4 separate regions of the Homo sapiens genome follow, and regions 1, 2 and 3 are each linked to region 4. Evidence: promoter capture Hi-C in 16 types of primary human blood cells and fetal thymus (Javierre and others, 2016). All regions are on one chromosome and are shown on one strand. The core of a region is centred on a gene start or on the middle of the fragment in contact, and the rest is flanking DNA. Distances in the headings are between cores, read along the strand shown. Region 1 overlaps RYR3 (ryanodine receptor 3). Region 2 overlaps RYR3 (ryanodine receptor 3). Region 3 overlaps RYR3 (ryanodine receptor 3). Region 4 holds the start of RYR3 (ryanodine receptor 3).

Region 1 (2,754 bases), core at 83-2,582, 300 kb after region 4:
CAGGAGATCGAGACCATCCTGGCTAACACGGTGAAACCCCATCTCTACTAAAAATACAAAAAGTTAGGCGGGCGTGGTGGCGGGCACCTGTAGTCCCAGCTACTTGGGAGGCTGAGGCAGCCTCCTGGCGTGAACCCAGGAGGTGGAGCTTGCATTGAGCCCAGATTGTGCCACTGCACTCCAGCCTGGGCGACAGAGTGAGACTCTGTCTCCAAAAAGAAAAAAAAATGTGTATAACTCCATAAAATATATATAACTCCATCAAAATAGAGTGTGTACATATATATTTGGAAGAATTTTTATGGAGTTATATTTTTTCTTTTGTATTTATTTGAGACAGGGTCTCATTCTGTCGCCCAGGCTGGAGCGCAGTGGCATGATCTCAGCTCACCTCAGCCTCCACCTCTTGGGTTCAAGCTATCTTTCCACCTCAGCCCCCTAAGTAGCTGGGACTACAGGTGCACGTCATCACGCCCAGCTAATTTTTGTATCTTTAGTAGAGACAGAGTTTCACCATGTTGGCCAGGCTGGTCTCAAACTCCTGAGCTCAAGCGATCTGCCTGCCTTGGCCACCCAAAGTGCTGGGATTATAGGCATGAGCTCCCCAGCCTTTTTGTATACTTTCCTGTATAAATGGTGACCATTTATAATGAATACATATTATTTCTGTAATCAAGAAACAAGATATCTTTTTATCTTTTGCTGGAAGCTCTATTTTAAAACCTAACTCCTCTTTTGTTGCTCTCTTTCTAATAGAAATGTAAACCTGAGAGGGGAGGGGTAGGTGGTTATAATTATTAATATTTACTTTTAGAATTTCCAGAATAAGATGATATAGGAAAGCAGAGAGGTGATTTTCCTCACTACTTTAAGTCAGGAAATAATAAATCATCTAATGAAAGAGATGTGAAGAAGTTTTTTAATCAATTCAGAGTATAACTGGCAATGTGTTTTCCTGCTTATCCGAAATAATAAAGTTCTTTAAAACAAATAAGCAAACTACGTAGCATAGTTTTTTTGTTTGTTTGTTTTTTGAGATGGAGTTTCACTCTTGTTGCCCAGGCTGGAGTGCAATGGCACGGTCTCGGCTCTCTGCAACCTCTGCCTCCCGGGTTCAAACGATTCTCCTGCCTCAGCCTCCCGAGTAGCTGGGATTACAGGCATGCGCCACCACACCCGGCTACTTTTGTATTTTTAGTAGAGACGGGGTTTCTCCATGTTGGTCAGGCTGGTCTCGAACTCCTGACCTCAGGTGATCCACCTGCCTCAGCCTCCGGAAGTGCTGGGATTACAGGCGTGAGCCACTGTGCCCAGCCTATGTAGCATAGTTTAATGGCTAGATGGCCTTGCCATTCTTCTCTTTGATGGCTTCTCTATTCAACTCTACAGCAGTCTAATCTTTTTGAGGAAGTAGAAGACAGGAAGGTCTTTGGGCACTTACAACTAAACAGACACACACACCAGCTACTTCTGAAGAGCAAGCTACACCAGCAAAAGCAGTCTGTCTGTTACTTCAGACACCAGGCCACAGTCTGAACACTCATTGAGCACATTAAGTTTTTGTTATTTCTCATTCTTAGCAGCTTGAGCATTTCCCCTGAGACTCATCGCAAATCAGGCATGGTGTCTGCCCACTCGCCAGCTTAGGAATTCATTTCTCATTGCTCATCTCACACAAAAGGAAACAAAAGGAAAGTTGCATTTCAAATGCAGTAGTACCTCCGGACCTCTTGAGTACCCATCACACCTCCCCACCTCCCGCAGAGGCCTCTGAGCCTTTCTCAGCCTAGCAGGTGCCTCCAGAGTTCCACAGCCTTCTTCCTGTTCTTTCCTCACCAGGCCGGATACCCAGAGCTGTGGCTTCCATCAACCAGCACCTCCTGAGATCGGATGACGTGGTAAGCTGCTGCCTGGACCTCGGGGTGCCCAGCATCTCATTCCGCATCAATGGGCAGCCCGTGCAGGGGATGTTTGAGAACTTCAACACAGACGGGCTCTTCTTCCCTGTGATGAGCTTTTCAGCAGGTGTCAAGTAAGTTATGGCTGTGATTTCATGGAGAGTAGCAGTTACCCCACCTCCCCGCCACCACTGTGAGCTGCGAAGCCAGCAGTCTCCTTCAGGGCTTCAGTACTGTGAACTAAGTTCCCCAGGACAGTGATGGTGCAAGGGCAAGAGCCAACTAGAGTCATTTGCTCCATCTCTACTGGTAGAACCTCCCCCAGGGGTTGTATTATGTACTCAGATAAACAGTAAGATTAATAGGATAAATCCTGTGTAGAAAATTAATAATTATAAAAGTATTACATGCTCATTATAAGAAAAACTTCAAAGACAATAGTTATGAACAACACAGTAAAAATCACCTATGATTCCAATGGTTAGCTATAATCTCTATTAATACTTTGGCATATTTTTCAAGTCCTTTCTTCTACAAATATACATCATTTTTTAATTGGTATTACACCGAATATGAAGTTTATGTCTTGATTATCTTTTATTCAACAATAATGAGCCTTTTCCTGAGTCATTGAGTATCTTCAAAATGATTTTATAGCCATATAATAGCCCTTTATTTGGCTGTTTCATGATACAGCCATTACTTTGCTGTTCAAGTCTATGCCAATTTCATTTTTGGTCAGAATGCATGTGTGCTTTAAAGTCTAAATTTATAATTATGTGGCCAAATTGATTTTGAGATTCTCTAAACAGTTCAGAATTCCTTATCAATAACTTTAGAATCTAAAAAGCTCTGA
Region 2 (2,700 bases), core at 130-2,629, 260 kb after region 4:
TTTGCAAATATTTTCTCTTGGTCTTTGGCTTTTCTCATTTTTTTTAAATGGTGTCTTTTGAAGCACAAACGTTTTAATTTTTGATTAAGTTCAGTTTAACATATTTATGGATTCTGCTTTTGGTGTCATATCTAAGAACTCTTTACCTTACTCAAAATCATCATGATTTTCTCCTCTGTGTTTTTCTAAAAGTTTCAAAATTTTAGCGTTTACATTTAGGTCCGTGATCTATTTTGAGTCTATTTCTGTGCATAGTATGAGGTAAAGGTTTAAATTAATATTTTTGCGTGTGGCCATATGGATATCAGATTTTCCCCTGCACAGTTTTCTGGAAAGAGAATATTTCCCCATCAAGTTACCTTGGCACCTTTGTCAAAAGCCAAGTGATCATAAATATAAGAGTTCTTTCTGGACGCTTAGTTCTGTTCCATTGATCTATATGCCTGTCATTATTCCAAAATGACACTGTCTTAATTAATGTGCCTTTATAGTAAGTATTGAAATCATGTACAGTGAATGCTCCAATTTTTTACTTCTTTGCAAAATTTATTTTGGTGCTTCTGGGTCCTTTGTATTCCCATGTAAATTTTAGAGTGAGTTTATTAATTTTTGTCCAAAAAAAATTCTGCTGGAATTTTGATGGGTATTAAATTGAATCTAGAGATCAGTTTTGGAGGACTGTTATCCTCATTAAGTCTTCCAATCTTCAAACATAAAATGTCTATTTATTTTTTAATTATTTTCAGGAAGATATTGTGGTTTTTATTATATAAGTCTTGCACTTCTTTTATGAAATGTATTCCTATGTATTTGATTCTTTTTGGTGCTACTACAAATATAATTATTTTTTTGATTTCATTTCAGATTATTTTCTGGTATATAGAAATTAAGTTTTAAAAATACTGATCTTATGTCATTGACCTAATTGAAATTATTTATTAGTTCAGTGGGCTTTTTGGGGAGCAGGTGGATTCTTTAGAACTTTTTACATACAGGATTATGTCATCTGTGAATAAAAAGAGCTTTATTTTTTTCTTTCCAATAGGGATGCCCTTTATTTATTTTTCTTGCATTATTGCACTGGCTGGAACATCCACTACAATGTGGAATAAAAGTGATGTGAACAGACATTCTTGTCTTGTTCCTGATCTAAGGTGGGGGTGGGGACAGGGTGGGAAACACCAATTTTTCACCGTTAAGTGCGATATTGACTGTAGGGTTTTTGTAGATACCCTTTATCAGGTCGAGGAAGTTCCCTTCTATTCCTGGTTTGTTGAGAGCTTTTATCTTGAATGAGCATTAGATTTTTTCAAATGCTTTTTCTTGGTCTATCGATATGATCATATAGTTTTGTCCTTTGTTAATATGGTTTATTACATTAACTGGTGGAGAATCGGGTATTGATGTTTCTGTTACTGTTGAATTGTCATCTTCTACTTCAATTCCATCAGTTTTTGCTTCACATATTTTGGTTTCTGTTGTTAGGTGCTTATATGTTTATAATAGATATATATTTCTGATAAATTTGCCCTTTTGTAATTTTAAACTATTTTTCTTTTTTCTTTATGAACAGTTTTGTCTTAAGTCTACTTCATAGAGCCATTCCAGGTGTCTTGAATGTGCAGATTATGTTTTTTGTTTGTATGGCATATTGTCTTCAATCTTTGTACTTTTAACTTATTTGTGTCCTTGAATATAAAGTGTGTCCCTTGTAGACAACACATATTTGATTTTTTAAAATAGTCTGACAATCTCTCCCTTTCATTGGTATGCTTCATCCATTTATATCTAATGTAATTATTTAGATAACTGGATTTATGTCTGCCACTTTGCTATTTATTTCTTATGTTTCTTTTGTTATTTTTTGGTCCTCTATTCCTCCCTTACTACCTTTTTTTGTGTTAAATAGATATTCTCTAGTGTAACATTTTAATTAATTTGGGTTTTTAAAAATACTTTTTTGAGGAGTTATTCTCTTAGTGGTTGCTCTAGGGAACTTAATATATATTTAACTTGAAATAATCCACTTCAAATTAATACTAACTTAACAAAGCAACTTTGCATTAACATTTTTCCATTCTTTGCCTACTCCTTTGTGATAATATTGCCACATATATTATATCTTCATAAGTTATAAGCTCAGCAACGCAGTTTTATAATTATTTTATGAAGTTGTTTTTTGAATAAATTACAGGAACATAAAAGAAAGATACATGTTTTTATATTGTTTCTGGTATTTACCTGCATAGTTACCTTTACCAGTATTCTTTATTTCTTTGCATGGATTCCAGTTACTGTTTGGTGTCATTTTCTTTCAGCCTGAAGGACTTCCCTTAGTATTTCTTACAAGACAAGCCTGTGACTATTTGCTGATGGACCTGTGTGTGTGGGCTGAATGACAGTTCGAGGTTCAGGCAGTTTAGAGTTCTATCCTGGATTTTGTCTTCTGCTTGTGCGGGAATGAATAGATAGCTAGGGTCCTCTCCAGTTTTTCCCGAGCATGTGTGTGGCCTTGCCCACTGCCTACTCTGCCCTGTTGGAGCTGTTTTGCCATGAGGCGGTGGGGGGAGGGAGATGGAAGCATCAACAGGCTGAAACACCATAGACTCCAACTGTTCTTCCTAAGGCTCATTAAATTAAAAAAAAAAAACTATATATACACACACACACACACACACACACACACACACTGGGCTGGGC
Region 3 (2,836 bases), core at 18-2,517, 290 kb after region 4:
TAAAACACTTGATACTACAAAATAGGATTACAGGTCATTGTAAAGTCATTTATTTAAGTGATAATTCAAGCATTTCAAAAAGTGAAAACCTTCATTCTTTGAGAGAGAAGACTTAATTTTCTAAACAAGGAAGCCCTAATAGAAACAGCATGAAGTCAATTACGTTTGCTTTCAAACTTTTATAAACAATTTATAAAATTTAATCTTGATTATAAAATATAACTTCCGTAAGCCTTTTGTAACCTTTATAATCTTTATTAAGAAGTTGGTTAATGCTTCAAGAAAACCTTGTTAATCTGACACAGGGGTCCATATACTGGTTTTGCATCAGTTTGCCTTTAACATTAATAATTAGTTTATAGAGGAACTGCACTTATTTTATCTTTCAAAATTGGCCCACCTTACAATCTTATAATCTTACACACCCACCTGTTTGGAGACAGTCCCTGGGCCTTGAGGAGTTGAATAGCTTTAATTTCTTGCCCTGTGTCTCAGGAATGCAGTTTATTTTGATTGACATCTTCTATCGGGCCTGAAGATGAGCCTTCAATTGCTATCAGTGTTTAAGATTTAGCAGGACTTGGTGTCCTTTTTAGACCCAGGAGTTAGAGCCCTGTAACTCAATGTTACAAGAACTTTAAAAGCACATACAGGAAGATACATGGATGTAATAATGTAATAACCTTAATTTAAAAAAAAATTTATCTCAGTTTTTTTCCCTAAGCAAACCAAAACTTCATATGACAACTTGATTGTGTGAATTTTTTTTAAAGTGTAAATCCTCTTATTGTGACTTACACTGACTGCTCATGACAGGGTTGGACTTTCTGATTTATTCTGAACATCCCTCCTTTTTAAAAAATCAGTGATTTTATTTTAGGACTAAATTTACCATACAAGATTCTTTCTTATATAAAATTATTTCTCTTTAAGTTTTTCACCTCAAAAAAAAAAGCCTCTTTATTTTTATAACTTTCTTTACGTCTTTTTTATTCCTGGTTCCTTTTACCTTGTTGTATACATAACCTTTAAGTTTTGAATTAGACAAAACTTGTTCACTTTTTTTTAAGGACACACTTTTTTTTTCTTTAACAATAATGTTTTCCTACAATATGTATTTATTGGAAAATACCCAAATAGTGAAATATCTATTATTTGATTTAATATAGCTTTATATTCTAAATTATGACCAGTTTGTCTACAAATATTTGTGCCATTACATTTACCTAATTGTTTTGTTTACCTAGATTATTCACGAAAACTGTGACAGTCATTATTTAAAGTTATAAAACTGCCGTTGCAAAATTATAACTGAGACACTGAAAAGAGATTTGATCTGACCAACTCAATATTGTTCTTTTTTTGGGGGGGGGGGATTTCTGACTTCTTTTTATTTATTTATTTTAAGTGGATGAATAATACTTGTACATGTTCATGGGGTACATAGTGATGTTGTGATACATATAATATACATGGTAATCAGATCAGGGTAATTAGCATGTCCACCATCTCAAACATTTATCATTTCTTTGTGTGGGGAATAGTCAATATCCTCCTATTTGAAACCATATAATATATTATTGTTAACTATTAGATTGGTGCAAAAGTAATTGCAGTTTGCCATTCCTTTCAATGGCAAAAACCATAATCTCTTTGCTATAGAACACTAGAACTTATTCCTCCCATCTAGCTGTAATTTTGTATCATTAAACAAATCTGTCCCTATCCTTCTCTTCCCCCACCCCTCCCTCTTAACCTGCAAGCTGTCCTTGTTCATTCCTGGGCATAGGCCGAACTAACTTTGAGAGGAACATAGTTTGTAGTTTAGCTTTGAAATAGACAATAACAGTTCTTTCCCAAAACAAACCTCCTTATTGCCTGTGGACTAGACTGCCTAAAGCCACCGGATTAGAAGTTACGGTAATCTTACTAAATTCAAGATACAACTATTATCATTAAACCCTTATCAATGTCTTATTTATTACAAATTACAAAAGCAAAGATTATTCTGTTTTGGGCTGGGCTTGTAGTTTTGTAACCCCTATGCCAAATTTTGACACCTTACAGTATTTTGGCAGGGATAAGTATGAAATTGCTTGATGAATAAATGCAAACAAAAATGTATGCTGGGCAATACTTAAGGCATTTATAATAGTAGTTTACCAGTAATTTTAAAGCTAGCTTATTTATTAAAGATTTCACTGGCCAGGCGCAGTAGCTCACGCCTGTAATCCCAGCACCTTGGGAGGCTGAGGTGGGCAGATTACGAGGTCAGGAGTTCGAAACCAGCCTGGTCAACATAGTGAAACCCTGTCTCTACTAAAAATACAAAAAATTAGCTGGGTTGTGGGCGCCTGTATTCCCAGCTACTCAGGAGGCTGAGGCAGGAGAACCGCTTGAACCCGGGAGGCGGAGGTTGCAGTGAGCCAAGATTGCACCACTGTACTCCAGCCTGGGCGACAGTGCAACAGTGTGAGACTCTGTCTCAAAAAAAAAAAAAAGATTTTACTTAAGTTACAGGAACTTTAAAAAGCATTTTATTTAGTCTTTAAATAGGAACTTTAAAATAAGGACTAAACAGGAACTTTAAAAAGCATTTATTTAGTCTTATTTAGTATATAGTTTAAGAGCTTTTATTTTTTAAGCCAATTATTTAGAGCTCTTTTATATATTGTTAGTAGTAAAACATTCTGTACACACAAAAAAATACATATAAAAACTTATGAGGCGTGCCAATGGAAGTACATTTTATAGATTTATAAAGACTCCTCCCCCACTTTTTTTTTTTCTGTCTTAGACTTTCAGATTCTTGATAACCTGTTTCACAACCCTAGGC
Region 4 (2,700 bases), core at 124-2,623:
CAGAACATATGGGACGGAAGCTCAGGAAAGAGATCTTAAGGTAGCATCAAGAGATAGATGTCGTCCACAAGGAGGCGGTATATGAAGCTGTGAAATGGCTTGGGGTTTCCAGTGTCTTCCACCATCATCAGCCCAGAATTACCACCTTCCCAGTTGCACTTCCTCCTAAATCTACATCTCTGGTGCCTTTTGCCTTGAACAGTCTCTTGCCTTGGAGCTTCTCGGCCATCAAACAGAAGGGGGCACCCTGCACCGTCAGTCAAGGCAAGGACCAATCTGGCAATCCCCAACCATGGAAAAGGACCTAAGGCTGGGTGGGATGTAGGAGCCTTCCAGGACCTGGAAGGGAGCCTCCTGTAACTACTCTCTACTCCCTTTAGAGTCCACAGGGCTGGAACTCTAAATGCAGAATAAGGTTAGGGGTGGGCAGAGAGGAAGGGTTGTGATGCCACCTGACTTCCAAATTGAGGGTGGCACAGGATCCCCCAGAAGCTCCCTGGGGTACAGAAGTCACAGCAACCCTGGACAATCCAGGGGTTTGGTAAAGTGTACTTACCAATTTTGAAGAGGGGAAGGGGTTCTCTTAAGGTGTAGAAAGGACTATCCAGGGAGTTGCAAACTTTGTTGTAAGTGGACAATCACCCTCGCTCCTCACTGCACCGTCTTCTCCTTGCCCAACAATGCACGCGGGTCCTAGCAAGGTATTCGAGTCCAGATCTCTCTCTCTCTCTCTCTCTCTCTCTCTGTCTCTGTCTCTCTCTCTTTCCTCTCTCTGTCTCTCTGTCTCTGTCTCTCTCTTTCCTCTCTCTCTCTCTCTGTCTCTGTCTCTCTCTTTCCTCTCTCTCTCTCTCTATCTCTGTCACACACACACACACACACACACACACACACACACACACACAGGCAAAGTGGGCAAAGCGGGCAAAGCGAGCAAAGCGAGAGGGTTGGTACCCAGTCTGGGCGCGCTGGAGCTAAGCAACTGGCCTTTGTTTGTGAATTGGAGCAGTTTAGGGGACATCCTCCGGTCGCCGCGGGGCGCGCGCCTCCGCTGAGTGTGCGGTGCGGTACCCAGCGGTGCGGGGGAGGCTCCACCGCGCCAGCCCAGGGCCCCCGCACCGCCCCCGCCAGCTCGACGCGCCCAGCGTTGCGCTCTCCACGGAGCGGGCGGCCGCAGCGCACTTGGCTGGGGCGAGAGGCGAGAGGGGTGGGCGGACTGCTTGGTTGGCGTTGGCGCTCTGCAGTGCAGTGGAGTGTTAGCCCAGCTCCCTATATGGTCGGGGATTAGCTTGGCGCTGCTGAGGCTGAGGCTGAGCCAGGAGCTGGAGGAGGAGGTGGAGGACGAGGACGAAAAGGAGGAGGAGAAAGAGCGCAGCAGCAGTCAGCGCACGCCGAGCGGCTGCCGGGGGAAGCAGAGGCGCCGGAGGCTGGGGCACCGCCGACGCCTCGGGAGCCATGGCCGAAGGGGGAGAAGGAGGCGAGGACGAGATCCAGTTTCTGAGGACTGTGAGTCTCCGCGGCGGGGGCGAGGCCGTGGGCAGGTGGGGAGGAGCGCGGAGCGCGGCGAGGAGGGGCTGGCTGCGCTGCGCCGCGGTGCCGGGTGCCCGGTGCCGGGCGCTTTCTCCGCACCCGCGGGCTGCAGAGGCGGACCGGCCACCTACCCGCGGGGCCGCGAGGGGCTGCGTGGGAAGGGGCACCATCTCCTGCCTCTCCCTTGTTCCCCTACCGCCACCCCTGCCCCAGGCCCTCCACCTAGGACCGCTCGCTCTCCAGGCAACTTGCTACTTGGTCTGAAACCCTTGATGCCCAAACTTCAGCCGGGGTTTGTTCGCGGTTGTCCTGACCCATAAGATCGGCGTTGGAAGCCCTCGCCCCGGGGTCGGCCCTCTGACACCTCCATACTCCACCCCAGCCCCATTCCTCTTCCAGGGCGCCCCCACGCACAGGGGAACCTCCGGGAAGGAGCCAGCGGGGCAGGGGGGAGTGTGGGGAGCCGGGTCGGAGAAGCGGGCGCAGGCGCTTGGTCCTAGCCCTGGGATCGCTCGGAGGGGAATTCACCCAGCGCTGCCCCTCTCGTGTTAAGCCCCACGCCGGCAACTGCTGCTGGAGCCTGACTTGACTGACTGCCTGTCGTGTGTTCGAGAGCTGTGGCTTCTGCTCCTGGCTCCCGCGAGCCCCGCAGGACAGGGAAACCCCAGTCAGTGGCTCCGCGTCACTCAGGTCCCCTCCTTGACACCTGAGGGCGCTGCTCCGTCCCAGATTTGGGGGTGAGGGGGCGAAGTCTGTTGCAGCCACACCAGCCTTGCCCTGTAGGAGATAATACAAAGACTTTCAGGGTGGACGGCCACCCGGAGGGGTGGGGGCATTGGGGATGCATCCTAGCGCTGACTTCAGCCAAGTGACCTTGAGCAAGTCGCATAATCCGCCCTACTCAGCCTCAGTTTCCTCATGTGTAAAATAAAATGTAACCAGCGTTTCAGGGTGATAAGGATTAAACGTTATCGTGAATGTCATAATGTTTTGTAAACGGCAAATCGCTCTGTAAATCTTAGGTAATTTTATATGCGCTGCCTTGCTCTCAGGAATTAGAATGAAATTCTTTCTTTCCCTCTCTCACTTCCCTTTAAGGGTGCCCCCTTCTCCATGACCTGGTCTTCGAAGATCACAACTTACCTCTTGTCCATCTTTTGAACCACTCTCCTC

What was found. The method cuts DNA at HindIII sites, captures the fragments that hold promoters and counts their contacts. A CHiCAGO score of 5 or more calls a contact.
Region 1: a contact is called between a fragment that was not itself captured here and the fragment with the promoter of RYR3 in region 4, in 4 of 17 cell types (erythroblasts, megakaryocytes, M1 macrophages and 1 more). The highest score is 16.3, in erythroblasts.
Region 2: a fragment that was not itself captured here is called in contact with the fragment with the promoter of RYR3 in region 4 in 1 of 17 cell types (erythroblasts); the score reaches 5.0 in erythroblasts.
Region 3: a fragment that was not itself captured here is called in contact with the fragment with the promoter of RYR3 in region 4 in 2 of 17 cell types (erythroblasts and megakaryocytes); the score reaches 7.5 in erythroblasts.

What each region holds. Positions count from the first base shown.
Region 1 is chr15:33,611,344-33,614,097 of GRCh38, forward strand. It overlaps RYR3 (ryanodine receptor 3), which reads left to right. Exons shown (of 104, transcript NM_001036.6): 19 at 1,840-2,032. Among named protein-coding and RNA genes, the nearest start is that of RYR3, 300 kb to the left of the region's middle. RefSeq lists an enhancer at 1,393-1,894. The HindIII fragment of the contact is 5,835 bases long and covers 1-2,754 here.
Region 2 is chr15:33,570,001-33,572,700 of GRCh38, forward strand. All of the region lies in intron 12 of RYR3 (ryanodine receptor 3), which reads left to right. Among named protein-coding and RNA genes, the nearest start is that of RYR3, 260 kb to the left of the region's middle. The HindIII fragment of the contact is 6,374 bases long and covers 1-2,700 here.
Region 3 is chr15:33,595,132-33,597,967 of GRCh38, forward strand. The region is part of intron 16 of RYR3 (ryanodine receptor 3); the gene reads left to right. Among named protein-coding and RNA genes, the nearest start is that of RYR3, 290 kb to the left of the region's middle. The HindIII fragment of the contact is 8,809 bases long and covers 1-2,836 here.
Region 4 is chr15:33,309,594-33,312,293 of GRCh38, forward strand. It overlaps RYR3 (ryanodine receptor 3), which reads left to right and starts at 1,374. Exons shown (of 104, transcript NM_001036.6): 1 at 1,374-1,503. The coding sequence starts at 1,453. RYR3-DT (RYR3 divergent transcript) reads right to left here and starts at 1,066. Exons shown (of 3, transcript NR_120327.1): 1 at 985-1,066. RefSeq lists enhancers at 1,595-2,106, 2,107-2,616. The HindIII fragment of the contact is 6,631 bases long and covers 1-2,700 here.